3 separate regions of the Homo sapiens genome follow, and all the other regions are linked to region 1. Evidence: promoter capture Hi-C in human tissues and cell types (Jung and others, 2019). All regions are on one chromosome and are shown on one strand. Each heading gives the region's core, a stretch centred on a gene start or on the middle of the fragment in contact. The rest is flanking DNA. Distances are from core to core; before and after follow the strand shown.

Region 1 (4,829 bases), core at 920-3,419:
ATGGGGTTTCTCCATGTTGGTCAGGCTGGTCTCAAACTCCTGACCTCAGATGAGCCGCCTGCCTTGTCCTCCCAAAGTGCTGAGATTACAGGCGCAAGCCACCGCGCCTGGCCTAGTTTTTTAATTTTTAGTAGAGATGGAGTTTCGTCATGTTGGCCAGGCTGGTCTCAAACACCTGACCTCAGGTGATCCACCTGCCTTGGCCTCCCAAAGTGCTGGGGTTATAGGCGTGAGCCACCATGCCCAGCCATCTCTTCCTCCTTTTGATCAGCATATTGTCTTGGGATTTTGCAAAGTAAATAAGTACTGTATTTGCACCCACTCTGCCCTTGAATCATCCAGTGTCCCCAAACGGTCCTTCTTTCTCCATCTTTTCTGCTAATGTTTACTGAACATCTCCTACATACCTGGCACTGTGCCTCCAGCCTTAAGACCCCTCTGCAAGCATCTCACATATATCAGGTCTTTCGGACCCATGAGACCCCGTGTCATTGCTTTACCTCCCTGAGTCTCAATTTTTTCATCTGCAAAATGCATTCAGAGGGAAGCCCCCATTATGAAGGGTTCCCTGCTCCTGACTGTAAGGCACTCTGTGGCTGTTAGCCACAGTCAGGGCGAGCTGCTTTGTAGGGGTTGATGTAGTTTGGAGGCCCTAGAAGAAAAGACTACAGGGCCGGGAGTGGTGGCTCACGCCTGTAATCCCAGCACTTTGGGAGCCCGAGGCCGGTGGATCACCTGGTGTCAGGAGTTCAAGACCAGCCTGGCCAATATGGCAAAACCCCGTCTCTACTAAAAATACAAAAACTAGCCGGGCATGGTGGCACACGCCTGTAATCCAGCTACTAGGGGGGCTGAGGCGGGAGGATTGCTTCAACCTGGGAGACAGACGTTGCAGTGAGCCAAGATTGTGCCACTGCACTCCAGCCTGGGCAACAGGGCTAGACTCTGTCTCAAAAAAACAAAAACAAAAACAAACAAAAAAACCCCACAAAAGCAAAGAAGGTCCAGAGCCCGGAAGGCGGGAGGGGCTCTGAAGACTTTATCACACTTTACCTCCTCTGTTCCTCCCAACAGCCCAGCTCTTGGTAGGTGCTGTTGTCCATTTCACAGATGAGAACATTGAAGGGGAAGTAATTACCCTAGAGGTGGGAAGAACAGAGTGAGGGTACCCAACAGGTAGCAAACGACAGAGCTGGGGGAGGGGAACCCCTGTCCCTGCCCCTCCCCTAATCTCTGAGGGGATCAAGACAGAAGTAAACAAGCTTTGCCGTGCCCAGGACAATTGTTACTTTGTTATTCCAGGAGCGCTCTGCCTTCTCCCACCCCCAATATACCCCAGGGCTGGAGTTAGGTCCTACCCATCCCCGCGTAGCAGGCTGCCCACCCGCCCACCCCGCCTGGAAGCTTTCTGATTTCTCTGTTCGCCCCGCCAGGCGCTGTGGGGTCCGTCTCACCAGGTCTGCACGTGAGCCCCCTGCCCCCAATCCCTCCCAGTCCCGCCCGCCTCTCGCGGACCCGGAGCCCCGACGGGAGGGGGAAGGCAGTGGGTGTGTCATGCAGCTGGAAGGCTGCGGACGGGCGGCAGTGGAGGGGCAGCCCCCTGGCTTCGGGTATGGATCACTGGATGCTGCTGCTAACCAAATGTGAACCTCGGTTTTCATATTTGTGAAATAGGCTTTAAAACACCTAAATCCCAAAGCTGCCAGCCTAAGGAGCACACGTCTTTGAACGCTGGCTTCACGCTGTCATTTAAGTCATTTCGTCCTCTTGGAGCCTCGGTTTCCACGTGGGTAAAATGATCGTGAAAAAAAGCACCGAGGAGTACTTTGAGCTCGAACGGAGGCCATCCGTGTAAAGGGCCAGATTCTGTCAATGGATCGATCCCCCCGATATTGATGGAAACCCCTGAGTGCACGCCCGTGCTGGGCGCAGGGGAAACAGCGACGCACGGGACAAAACAAGCTTGCAGAACAGCAGGGGGCAGAGAGGCTGTAAACAAGCCAACGGGCTGCACTTGTAGCGGTTCTGTTGCCAATGCCATTCAGACCCCAGTCCGGGATTCCGCGCTCGGGGTGCGAGAGGCCGCTCCCGGGGAGGGGCGGGACCCGGGCGGGGCGGGAGGGGCGGGGCGCCCGGGCCTATTAGGTCCCGCGCCGGCAGCCGGGCCGCAGACACGAAGCCTCCCGGGTGGCTTACAGACGCTGCCAGCATCGCCGCCGCCAGGTGAGTGCCCCCGACCCTGCTGCCGCCCGCTGCTCCGCCCAGCTCGAGCCCGGCGGTTAGCGCCCAGGCCGCGGCCCGGGTGCCGAGCGGCTGGAAGTGTGGGGAGCCGTGCCCAGGTTTTACCGCTCCAGCAAGTCGCTGGCGGGGCGACGTCTCGGGACTCCGGCTCCGAAACGTACCCTCTCTGTCCGGGGCTCCAGGTCCCCGACGGGCGATCGTGCCAGGCGCGGCCCCTGCGGGCCTCAGTCTCCGCGCCTGTGCAATGGGGTGGTCCCTCTGCGTCTCGCCGCGACGGCTGGACGCCCCATCGCCGCCGCACAGTCCTCCAGTGCGGCTTCCGGGCACCCGGCTCCGAACTCTGGGGTCGTGCGGACCCGGCCAGACCGTAGCGCGGCAACGCCAGCCCACGGCCGCGGCCGCACAGCCCCGGTGCCCTTAAAAGAGGGAAGATGGCGTCGTGCCCGGTGCCGCCGGGACCGGCTCCCGGAGGCGCTGCGCACCTGAGGAAGGGCCGAGGAAAGGCTTCGTAACGGGACGCCCAGAAAGTCCGGAACAGGAACGTGCACACGGAGCGGCGCGCAGCCGCCCGCCCTCGCTTGCCCACGCGCCCTGCACAGGTGCGCCCCAGACTGGGCGGGGACTAGAGCCCGGCTGGGGCATGCGACCTTGTTTGGTAAATTGGAGGTGCGCCCCTGCGGGTGACCCGCGAGGGGGCCCCCCGCCTGCGGGGCGCGGTCACGACAAGGCTTGTGGGGTTCGGAGCTGGTCGTCGTCTGGGCTCTGGCCTCCTAAATGCGATCGCTTTCAAGCCCTTCATTGTCAATTTTGCTAGAATGAGCCACTCGTGGGGTAGGACGTGGTTGTTGATGTTACTGTTGTAGCTCTTACTATTGTAACATTTTTGTTGCTGTTTTAACGCAGTGTTTACTGTGGTCTGGGAGCCCGAGCTTCCCAGGGAGCATTGGTGTCAGCCTCATGTCCCCGCATTAGGAGGAGCGCAGTCTGGTGGGCACTAGCGCCGGGAAGTTCTTAACATCTGTCTGCCCCTGGGAGCAGGAGGCCTCATCTTCCAGGTGGAGAAACAGAGATTTCAGTCCCAGGAGGCACAGAAATGCCAGGGTTGTCTAGCTAGAAGCCAAGGGCCCTTTATGGAACCCAAGCCAAAACCTCTTTCCACTCTCCAGCCCTGTGGCCTCGGAAGGGCCACTCCATCTCTCTGAACCTCAGTTTGTTCTGTTCACTCTGCAAAATGTATCCCTGAGGTTTCTGGCCAGGTGAAAGCCCCTCTCAAGTTAGTAGCCTCCCTGGAGTTAAGACTCACCCCGATTTCTACTTAATTTGGGCACGCCTTTGGAATAAGTTCTCAGGAATGGCACAGTTTGGGTGTTTTTTGTTTCTTTTTGTTTTTTTTTGAAACAGAGCTTCGCTCTTGTTGCCCAGGCTGGAGTGCAATGGCGCCGTCTCGGCTAACTGCAACCTCGGCCTCCTGGGTTCAAACGGTTCTCCTGCCTCAGCCTCCTAGTAGCTGGGATTACAGGCGCCTACCACGAGGCCCAGCTAATTTTTTGTATTTTTAGTAGAGATGGGGTTTCACCATGTTGGCCAAGCTAGTCTCGAACTCCTGACCTCAGGCGATCCACCCGCCTCAGCCTCCCAAAGTGCTGGGATTACAGGTGTGACCCACCCCGCCCGGCTTGAGTGTTTAAATACTCCTGCCTCAGCCTCCCAAGGTGCTGGGATTACAGACGTGAGCCCCTATGCCTGGCCCTTTTTTTTTTTTTAATTGTCTTAAGGATGTTAAGACTAAGATTCTCACACATTTGACTCGTGCCTGTAATCCTAGCACTTTGGGAGGCTGAGGCAGGAGGATTGCTTGAGCTCAGGAGACTAGACTGGGCTAGACCAGACTGGGTAACATGGTAAAACCCTGTCTCTACCAAAAATACAAAAAATTAACCGGGCATGGTGGCATGTGCCTCTGGTCCTAGCTACGCAGGAGGCTGAGTTCAGAGGCCTACCTGAGCTTGGAGGGGTTGAGGCTGCAGTGAACCCTGATCATGCCACTGCACTCTAGCCTGGGAGACAGAGTGAGACCCTGTCTCAAAAAAAGGAGCATTAGGCTGGGCATGGTGGCTCACATTTGTAATCCTAGCACTTTGGGAGGCCGAGGGAGATGGATCACCTGAGGTCAGGAGTTGTGAGACGAGCCTGGCCAACATGGCAAAACCAGTCTCTTTTAAAAATGCAAAAATTAGCCGGTCGTGGTGGCGTGTGTCTGTAATCCCAGCTACTTGGGAGGCTGAGGCAGGAGAACTGCTTGAATCTGGGAGGCAGAGGTTGCACTGAGCGGAGATCACACCATGGCACTCCAGCCTGGGCCACATAGGGAGACTCTCTGTCAAAAGAAAATTTAAAAAAGCATCAAATGGTAGATCCCCAGTGTCTGTTACAGCTTGGGTACTCTATGGCTGGATAGAGAGGCTGCATACATGTTAGTTATTGTAAGTTTGTTTGTTTTTTTGAGACGGAGTTTCGCTCTTGTTGCCCAGGCTGGAGTGCAATGGCTGGGAATACAGGCGTGAGCCACCTCACCCGGCTCAAGATTC
Region 2 (4,829 bases), core at 702-3,201, 210 kb before region 1:
CACAGAGCCAACGGGAGAAGGGCAGTATGCCAAACAGTTGGGACCGAGGCACCCCAGCAACATCGGCCCTGCTGTCCCTTTAATGAAACGGTTGTGTGGTGGCCGGTGAAGGCCATCACTGGAAGTCTCTATCGCCATAAACCACCAGGGACAGAGCAATGTGGCCTTTCCACTTCCCTGGGCAAAGCACTGCAGTCGTCCCAGGAGCAGAGCTACTGCTGGCTGCTTCTCTAGGTCGAGATGGAATCTACACACAGGCAAAACTGCCCACTACAGGGTACACTTAGATCTGAATGTGGACAAACATATACCACTGTCTACCACCTCCACAGCAAGGAACAGGACACTTCCATCTCTCATGAAGTGCCTTTGTGCCCCCTTGCAGCCCATCCCCTCCCCATACAGCCCCCAGCAACCACAGACATGATTTTTGCCCCTTTTCCAGGATGGCAAGGATATATGGAATACACAGTATGCAGCCTGGCTTTTGAGACTGGCTTCTGTCACCCACCATAATGTTTCTGAGACTGATCCATGTTGCTATCTACGTCAGAAGGTCACTCTTTCTTACTGCTAAGTAGTATTCGATTGTGTAGTTATGCCACTATCAGAAGTTCACTCTTTCTTACTGCTAAGTAGTATTCGACTGTGTAGGTATACCACTATCAGAAGTTCACTCTTTCTTACTGCTAAGTAGTATTCGATTGGGTAGTTATACCACTCTTTGGTTTATCCATATTCTTCCTGCTGAAGGTTGCTTGGGTCATTTTCAGTTTGGGGGAATTATGAATAAAGAAGCTATAACGTTCATCTATTGGTCTTTTGTGGGGACATAAGCTTCCATGACTCTTCGGTGAATACCTAGGAATGGAAATGTTAACTGTACGTTTAACAAAACTGCCGAACTGCTACCCAAAGTGACTGGACAGCTGTGCACTGCCATCAGCAACGTATGAGACTTCCCTGTCCTGCATGCTCCCAGCACTTAGTATTGCCAGGGTGTTTTGTTCTGTTTTGTTATTTTTAGCCATTCTACTTAGTGTAGCAATATTGCATTGTGATTTTAATTTGCATCTTTCTAAAGTCTAATAATACTGAAAATCTTTTCTTATGACTATTTGCCATCTGTATGCCTTCTTGAGTAAAGTTTGTTCCTTTTTTTTCTTTTTGAGACAGGGTCTTGCTTTGTTGCCCAGGCTAGAGTGCAGTGCCACAATCATGGCTCACTGTGGCCTTAACCTCCCAGGCTCAAGTGATCCTCCCACCTCAGCCTCCAGAGTAGCTGGAACTACAGGTACGCACCACCACACCTGGCTAATTTTTGTATTTTTTGCAGAGACAGGGTTTTGCCGTGTTGCCTAGGCTGGTCTTGAATTCCTGGGCTCAAGCGATCCTCCCACCTTGGCCTCCCAAAGTGTTGGGATTACATGTATAAGCCACAGCGCCTGGCCTGTTCCCTTTTTAATATATTTTTTAAAAAATCAAACGTATAATAATGACTAGTTTTTACAATGCAAGAAAATTAATTTTCAAATATTTGACAAATCGATCATACATTAAAATCAGCACATATATAGTTAACTATTTCTGCTCTATCAGTTTTGTAATTAAAAACCTCTCTTCTACTTCTTCAAAACATTAGGTTGTTTTGGGATAGCCAAATGGCAGAAAACTTTAGGTAGAAACTGAATATAAGCATGCTTTCTTCCAAACATATTAATTGCTTCATTCACAAAATCCTCATTTTTGAACCAGGTATGAAGCTATGTTCCTAACTTCCTCTAAATTCAGGCTCACTCCACTCAGAAACTAAGCTACCAAAGACAAATGCTCAGCATACATGTGCCTGGACATCCCTTCACTCCCCTGAGGGACTGCCTGGCAGACGGAGGGCCAAGCATGTACCTACTGAGGGACTCAGTGCTTGGGCACAGGGCACTGGAACTGGGGCACTAGGAGGAGGGGGTGAGAGGTATCCTGAACGCAATATCCAAAGGGCATCTTCAAGGACAGGTAGGAGGCTGGCCAGATTAAAGGTGAGGCCAGGAAAATAATTCCAGGCACAGGGAACAGCACTGGCAAAAGGAAGGTGTGTCCACATGGCAACCCTGGGGCCCTGAGAGAAGTCAGCTGGGAATGGAACACAGAACACAGGGAGCAAATGGCAATGAGGGAGGGCAGATGCTGAGAAACTGGGAAGGCTAGGCCTGCATCCTGAAGGGTGTCAGGCTTGGGGACTGGTGGGGCTCAGAAGGCTGGCGGGGGTGGGGACATCCTGGAAGGAAGAATTGAGAGCAGCCTCCAGAGAATGGGGCTGCTCAGTGGAACCCAGGGCATGCGAGCCAAAAAAGGGAGCTGCCCATCCTCCAGGTGGAGGATGCGGGGACAAAGGTCGTGGGAATCCCTGGCTCCCAGACAGGTTTCTCTGCATACAGCACCCCTGCCTTCTCCAGGCTGTGCCCACCTTGGGAAAGAGAACCTCCTTCCTTTTCTTTTTTTTTTTTTGAGACAGTTTCGCTCTTGTTGTCCAGGCTGGAGTGCAATGGTGCGATCTCGGCTCACCACAACCTCTGCCTCCTTGGTTCAAGCGATTCTCTTGCCTCAGCCTCACGAGTAGCTGGGATTACAGACATGCGCCACCACGCCCAGCTAATTTTGTATTTTTAGTAGAGACGGGTTTTCTGCATGTTGGTCAGGCTGGTCTCAAACTCCCGAACTCAGGTGATCTGCCCACCTCAGCCTCCCAAAGTGCTGGGATTACAGGCGTGAGCCACTGTGCCCGGCTGAGAACCTCCTTTCTAGGGTCCTCCGGAGGCCGCTCTCCTGCCTCCCAGGGATGGACCTTGGGGGCCACATCCCTCACAATCAAGCTCTGCCTCCAGGGAATCCACTCCCTTCCCCATGCCCTTCCCCGAGCCCAGGACTCGCCCTGCCGCCTGCCCTCCTCCAGGCTGCACTCACTCCCTCTCAGTGAGCCAGGCTTCTAATCGTTCCTCTGAGAACCCAATGTCAGCCAAGCCTCAGTTTTAAAGTCAGCTAGGATGAGGTGGCAGCTGGAATCTCAACCATCCCTGTGCAGAAACATCCGTGCAATCAGGAGCAGAGAAAGGGGCTCTACCTGAAACCCAGCAGCTTATTGTCACAGGCGTGCTGGGGGGACTATCCAAAGAGGCCACGTCAGCTCCTCCTCCATCCTGCATGCATCTGTTGTAAACAGTCCAGAGGTGCCTTTCACAAGGACGCTGGAGAAGGTCTGCTGTGCAGACACAGGACCATGCCAAGCTCTGTGGTGCTCCCAACCCCTAATACCTTCAGACTCTGGGCCCTAAGAGGGTGTGGACCTGTGTCTTCCTAATCCACCACTCTTTCTCCATTGCTTTCCACAGGGTCTACCGCACAGCAGGCACCCCATACAAATGTGAGGTAAAACCATAACATGACCAGAAGAAAATGAACGCGAATACCTTTGTGACTTACGGCATGGCTCCTTAAACAAAATTTTTCTTTTTCTTTTTTTTTGAGACGGAGTCTAGCTCTGTTGCCCAAGCTGAAGCGCAGTGGTGCCATCTCGGCTCACTTGCAACCTCTGCCTCCCGGGTTTAAGCGATTTTCCTGCCTCGGCCTCCCGAGTAGCTGGGATGACAGCAGGCAGAGCACACAGAGACACCTCTGTATGTGGGTGCCCAGAGGGATGTGCCTGAGAACAGCAAGGCAGCTCTACGCCTGTGGACTGGCAACCACCAGAGAGTGGGAAAGGCCAAGTGTGGGCAGAGGTGGGTGTACAGCACCCTTTACTGGATATACTGGTGGAAACAGACTGGGCAGGCCTCTGTGCACAACTAGGCAGTCATTAAATCATAAAGCATGCAAGTGCCCTACGATGACCCAGCAGCTTCATTCTGGGCTTAGATTCCCATAGAAGTGTTCCCTTTGGTCCCAGGACAGGTAGGGGGCCTCTCCCTGGGGAATGCACAGGTAAGCACGGGGCCCAGCAGTGCAGCGGGAGGAAGGATGTGCGCGACTACGCCGACACACTGACCCAGAACAGAAACAGAATGATGTGGGGCATGATGCCATTTACATCAATTAAGAATACGTGCACATGAAGTAGGGGTGCGAAGTTTATGAGAGCAGATGCTAACAAAAGCTGTAACATTAGAAATGGGGAGGGGGCCTAGGTATCAACTGCAGGTGGAGAAATAGAGACAGGAACGGTTATTGATGAGCGAGTCCCCCTCCTACCTGCCCCCATCTCAGCTCTCTGTGAAGTCTTGGCTCCTTTTCCCCACGCAGGCTTCCCTGATGCAGCCCGTCCTTGCTGGAGCACCAGCGTGGAGCACCAACCCAGTCTACACCACCTGCACCCACAGACAGGGGAGACTCATCTGAGGACTCCTGCCATCTGGTCCAGCTGGGGGCCATGATGGCCCTTGTGAACACCGTCCCCATGCCCTTCGGGTCACAGCTCGTCTCAAAATTGCCTCGAGCACATTAGCCTCACTTCCCTAGCTAGACTGTAAGCCTCCCGCCAAAAGGTGCCACACACTGAGTGATTTTCACTAGCGACGGCGTCATAATAGAGCATCCCATACTTGGCCAGGCAGGGTACTGACAGTTTTACATGCCACCCCACTTAATCTTGTGAGAATGCTAGCCAGGGGATACTATTAATGTCTATTTTTAAAAATTAAATTAAATTTTATTATTTTATTTGCGAGAAGGGTCTCACTGTATTGCCCAGGCTGGAGTGCAGTGGCACAATCACAGAGGCGCAACCTTCCCGTCCGAAGTGATCCTCCTGCCTCAGCCTCCGAGTAGCTGGGACCACA
Region 3 (4,829 bases), core at 622-3,121, 150 kb before region 1:
ATGCAATCTTAAAAGTATTTGAAACACACACTTCACAGTAGGTAACATCCTAACAAGAAAGCATGTTTTTCTGTGAGGCACAGGCTGCACCAGCACAGTATTTTCTGGAGGACGGAGAGAGGATGCTGCCTTTTTAATGGCAATCAGTAATCCAGTAAGTATAATTCACTGAGTGATGGGTCACTTAAGTATCAGGATTTTAAAAATCTAATTAGAATTACAGCACCACAGCAATAAAGGGGAGCCACTGTTTTTCAAAAATTCCAGAATATGACTTCTAAGAAACAATTGAATACGTACATAAGGCTGCTCAGTTATTAAAACAATAAGACTTTTACATTTTGTTACCCGACAAAAATATAAACAGTGTCTAGTGACAGCCCTCAGAGGGGGACGAGGGCACAGGGTCCAGCTGGGATGAGAAATGAGAAGAACTGAGGGGGAGGATGGGAAGGTGGTCGGGAGGGGTCCTGGAGCGGTGGCAGGTGATCAGAGACTCTGCAGTAAACAGTCATGAAACAGCAATTACAGTCTCCTGGAAAAGATAATTTGCTTTCTCTCTCAAGTCCCACTTATGTGTTTGTAGATTAGATTTGGCTGTAAAGAAAGAAAATGGCAGCATGTAATAAACATTAACGCCTTAAAGTAGGGGGAAAAGCCCTCTATTAACAGCTAACTCAAGTAACTCATTTAGCTACTCGGTAAGAAAAAAATACAGCTAAAGTATGTCAGCTACTCTAAAACATGCCAAAGCAAAGGTGCAAAGTTATTGCATCTATTTTGAAAGGAAACACGCACGTATGTTCTAAAACCAGAGTCAAAAATTACAAAACACAATCCTTCATTTGTTTAAGCCGAAATCTATTCTCCAAGAAAATCAAACACTTACTCTGACATCTTCTCCAAGCACCCTGGATAAAGCATTCTGCATTGCTCAGTTAATAATGAACTAATTGAACATTGCCGTCACGGAGCTCTAAAACTAGGTGCGCTTGCATAGAAGGTGAGAGTTCTGTTAAATCAGTCACTCAGTGAGAAAGAAAACAATTCCGTGAAAATTCTACTTTCAAAGAGGTCTACCTTAAAGGAAATGCAAGCCTTCCACAGCACACTCACATTTTTCTGTCAGATGCCGGCTAACTCTGCAGCTCAGCTTCCGTACCTGCCTCTTTCCAACCCTGCTGGCATGTCTGACCTCTGTCTCTCAGCTGAATTCTCCCAGCACATTTCATCATTTCCTGTTGGCTGCCGAGATAAGGTCATTCCCATACACTGCTGCATTCGCTGTACAGTCCCAGGTTCCCAGACTGCACGCTCCTGCCTGCTGTGGCCATCACAGAAGAGCTCTCTTTTCAGAAAGTGGCCAAAGAGAAATTTCAGTATTTCCACGGAAAATCAGGGAGAAGAGGTCTGAGAACAAAATTCATACTACCCCCTCCCCAACACACAAAAAATCAAATTATATACAAACTAACTTACACCATACATGAGTCTTCTAATATCTTCTTGTATTTGGGATCCTCCTGCTTACAAGAGAAAAAAGACAGCATGCTCTCTCTGCATCTGAGGGGCGTCACAGCAGTCAGTGGGACAGGGACTTGCTTGCACAGGATAATCTTACACTGTCCCTACATGTGGAAGTCAACTTCCTTCTGTGACTACACACAACAAGGCAATGCCTGTCAGCAGATGAACAGGAAGCCTCATGCAGGAGACAGGACTGGGGACACAGAGTCCCCTGGAGACAGGCAGGTGACCCCATGGTCTCTCAGCAGCACGACTGTCTCCTAAGAACTAGGACACTCAAATACGCAACTGTGATTACATGGAAATAAAAACACCTCGCTTCTTCAATTTTTACAAAGAATTTAAAGTGAAGAAAAAAACAATAAAGCTTTAGGTGAGGAGAGAAAGATTTTAAAATGCTTGTGCCTACAAGAATACATGCTGTACGATTCCCTTTGGATCCAGCACAAGAAAAGGCGTAACTAATCTACACCCTTCGAAGCCGGGACAGGGAAGAGAAAGAGGAGGCAGGCAGGAAGGGGTGCCAGGAGGGTTTTGGAGCTGTGCTGTGGCTCTTAAACTGGCTATGGGTGTGCTGGGCTTGTGAAAATTCACTGATATGTACACTTGAGATCTGTGCACTTTAGGTATGCATATTATTCAATAACACTTTTTAAAATCTCATACAGTAACAAAAAATACAGACACTACAGGAAAGAGTAGATATGGAAACCAACCTGCAAAAACAGACAGGAAACAAATATTTCAAGGGATCAATTTCTGCTAGGTGCCCTCCTAGAAGATACACATGCACACTCCCCCATTCCCCTTGGCAAGCCAGGATCTAAGTGGTAATGGCCAGGGCAGGGCCAGTTCAGGGCGGTTCCTCCTTTCAACATGGCCCAAGCGGGTGTATGTAGGGATGGGAAAATACGTAATTGGCAAAAGAACATACTGCAAGGGGAAACTGTGCTAAGTGGATATACACTATTTACCAGTGTTCTTGCTACTCATATTCATTCAAAAATGTTCAGTTAAAAACAGCCATCTAGTCTTACCTTATAACACAAAACGAAGTAGGTTAAAAATCTCTTTTGAAAATCTTGTGTTTAGACAAACACTGCGGAAGGCCGCAGGGTCCTCTGCCTAGGAAAACCAGAGACCTTTGTTCACTTGTTTATCTGTTGACCTTCCCTCCACTATTGTCCTATGACCCTGCCAAATCCCCCTCTGTGAGAAACACCCAAGAATGATCAATTAAAAAAAAAAAAAAAAAAAAATCTTGTGTTTAGAAATTCCTTAGGCTGGGCCGGTGGCTCACACTTGTAGTCCCAGCACTTTGGTAGGCTGAGGCAAATGGATTGCTTGAAGCCAGGAGTTTGAGACCAGCCTAGCCAATATGGTGAAACCTCATCTCTACTAAAAAATACAAAAATTGGCCAGGTGTAGTGGCACATGCCTGTAATCCCAGCTACTCAGGAGGCTGAGGCACGAGAATCGCTTGACCCCAGGGAGCAGAGGTTGCAGTGAGCTGAGATCACGTCACTGCACTCTAGCCTGGGTGACAGAGCGAGATCCTGTCTCAAAAAAAAGAGAAAAAGAAATTCCTTAATGGAAAAATACCAATAAAAGCAAAGACCACATAACATGAGACTCTATTACTTGACATATGATAATAATTTACACTACTTGAGAAATTATTTACCACCCCTCCCCACACAGCCCGTCACCAAAAAAGCAGAGAAGTCAACACATATTTCACTATATCCTGTGGTTGGCTTAGTTAAATCCACGGCACCATCACAGAAGATGAACACCAGAGTGCCACGCCCGCCACAGCTGGCAAGCACTCACTCCACTAAGACAGAAGCAGCGCCTGAGTTCTGGGGAAGCAAGTTTGAGACCAGCCTGGCCAACATGGTGAAACCCCGTCTGTACTAAAAAATACAAAAATTGTCTACCTGTTCCCTCCCCCAAGCCAGGATACCAGAAAACTTTTTTTTTTTTTGTCCCAGAGCCCCACTTAGGGCTGCTGGTTATGGGAGGGCTTTTTGTTTAAAAGACTCACTCTCTTCTTTTAAATCCAACAAACACAGGCTGCTCAATAAACATTTACACAGCACTTACTTTATTTCTGGCTAATCATGAAAATAGCTCTTTGGGGGTAAGCATTGTTATCTTCATTTCCCAGATGAGAGGTTATGCAACTTGCTAAGTGTCCCACAGCTGGCGCAAGGAGAGCCAGCCTGTAAGCCAGGCTACACAACACTGCCCCTCCAACTTGACTTCCCTCAACGGTCAGAACTGGGTCTTGGATAGTTTCTGCTTAATAAAAAGCTGAACTTGGAAAAGGAGAAGAGGCCCAAGGCAGAACTGGGGGTGGGGGGTGGAGGGTGAGGTCTGGGGTAGGGGGTGAGGGCCACATCCAGCACAGGGCAAGGGAAGGCCAGCCCAGCAGCCATTCACAGTCCAAGTCACAGGGCCACCCTCACATGCCCTCAGGCAAAGTGCAGCCTGGATGCCTGGGGTGGGTGGAGGCATTGTGAGTCCTGCCCCAAGTACCCAGTCACAAGAGCAAGGTGTGGGCGGGGGGGGGGGGCGGCGCAGAAAAAGAAAACTGACTTTGAACTGAATAGTAGTGGGACTAGGAAGTCATCAGACCAGATCTCCAGTGTGGCTAAAGACACCCTCTCCCTGCCCATGTCAGCCACATCTCACTAGTGGATTCCAGGCAGGAAACGTGGACTATGGCAGAAGACAAGACTGACTCAGGCAGCTCTCCTGTCCCTGGCAGTGATACAGCTGCCCGACCACTCTTTAGGTGATGCTGGGACAGAAACCGCTCAGGGAAGCTCACCTGCTGGCCTCTGGCATGCAGAGCCTAAGCTGGAATTCCAGTTCTGATCTGGCTTCTGTCATCAAAGACTGGAAACCATTGGACATTCATTCAACAAACATTAATGCCAGGCACAGTGCTTAGGGTCCCACAGTCAAAGCAGCCAAGGTCCCTGCCCCGGCCCACAATGTACAGGCTGAGCAGAAGTGCAAATAAATAAAATGAGGGACATCTCGTGCTGGTTCTCCAAGAGTGTGCAACCAGCCTACTCAAACCATGTGGATTAAGGCGGAAGAAAATTCAGAAACAGAGAGTCCACCAAGTTAACTAAAGACCAGCAGCGCCACCCATCAGCTCAGGCCCCCTGCAGAGGCGGCAAACAACACGCAGGGCAGCACTTCCCAGGGGGATTCTTTCGCCCAGCGGTCAGTGCAGCTCCAGCAGGCCAGTTCATCAGCCTAGCAGGACTCAAAGACAGGACAGGATC

What was found. Contacts are between HindIII fragments. The study calls those that stand out against the background at their distance.
Region 2: a fragment that was not itself captured here is called in contact with the fragment with the promoter of BIK in region 1 in 1 of the 25 tissues and cell types used here (mesenchymal stem cells).
Region 3: a contact is called between a fragment that was not itself captured here and the fragment with the promoter of BIK in region 1, in 3 of the 25 tissues and cell types used here (IMR-90 fibroblasts, small bowel and stomach).

What each region holds. Positions count from the first base shown.
Region 1 is chr22:43,108,581-43,113,409 of GRCh38, forward strand. BIK (BCL2 interacting killer) reads left to right here and starts at 2,170. Exons shown (of 5, transcript NM_001197.5): 1 at 2,170-2,223. RefSeq lists silencers at 2,120-2,289, 2,820-3,039 and an enhancer at 2,237-2,795. The HindIII fragment of the contact is 22,290 bases long and covers 1,684-4,829 here.
Region 2 is chr22:42,895,786-42,900,614 of GRCh38, forward strand. All of the region lies in intron 2 of PACSIN2 (protein kinase C and casein kinase substrate in neurons 2), which reads right to left. Among named protein-coding and RNA genes, the nearest start is that of ARFGAP3, 41 kb to the left of the region's middle. RefSeq lists enhancers at 1,777-2,553, 2,554-3,328. The HindIII fragment of the contact is 4,261 bases long and covers 1-4,082 here.
Region 3 is chr22:42,958,683-42,963,511 of GRCh38, forward strand. The region is part of intron 1 of PACSIN2 (protein kinase C and casein kinase substrate in neurons 2); the gene reads right to left. Among named protein-coding and RNA genes, the nearest start is that of PACSIN2, 54 kb to the right of the region's middle. RefSeq lists an enhancer at 1,021-1,315. The HindIII fragment of the contact is 6,006 bases long and covers 1-4,829 here.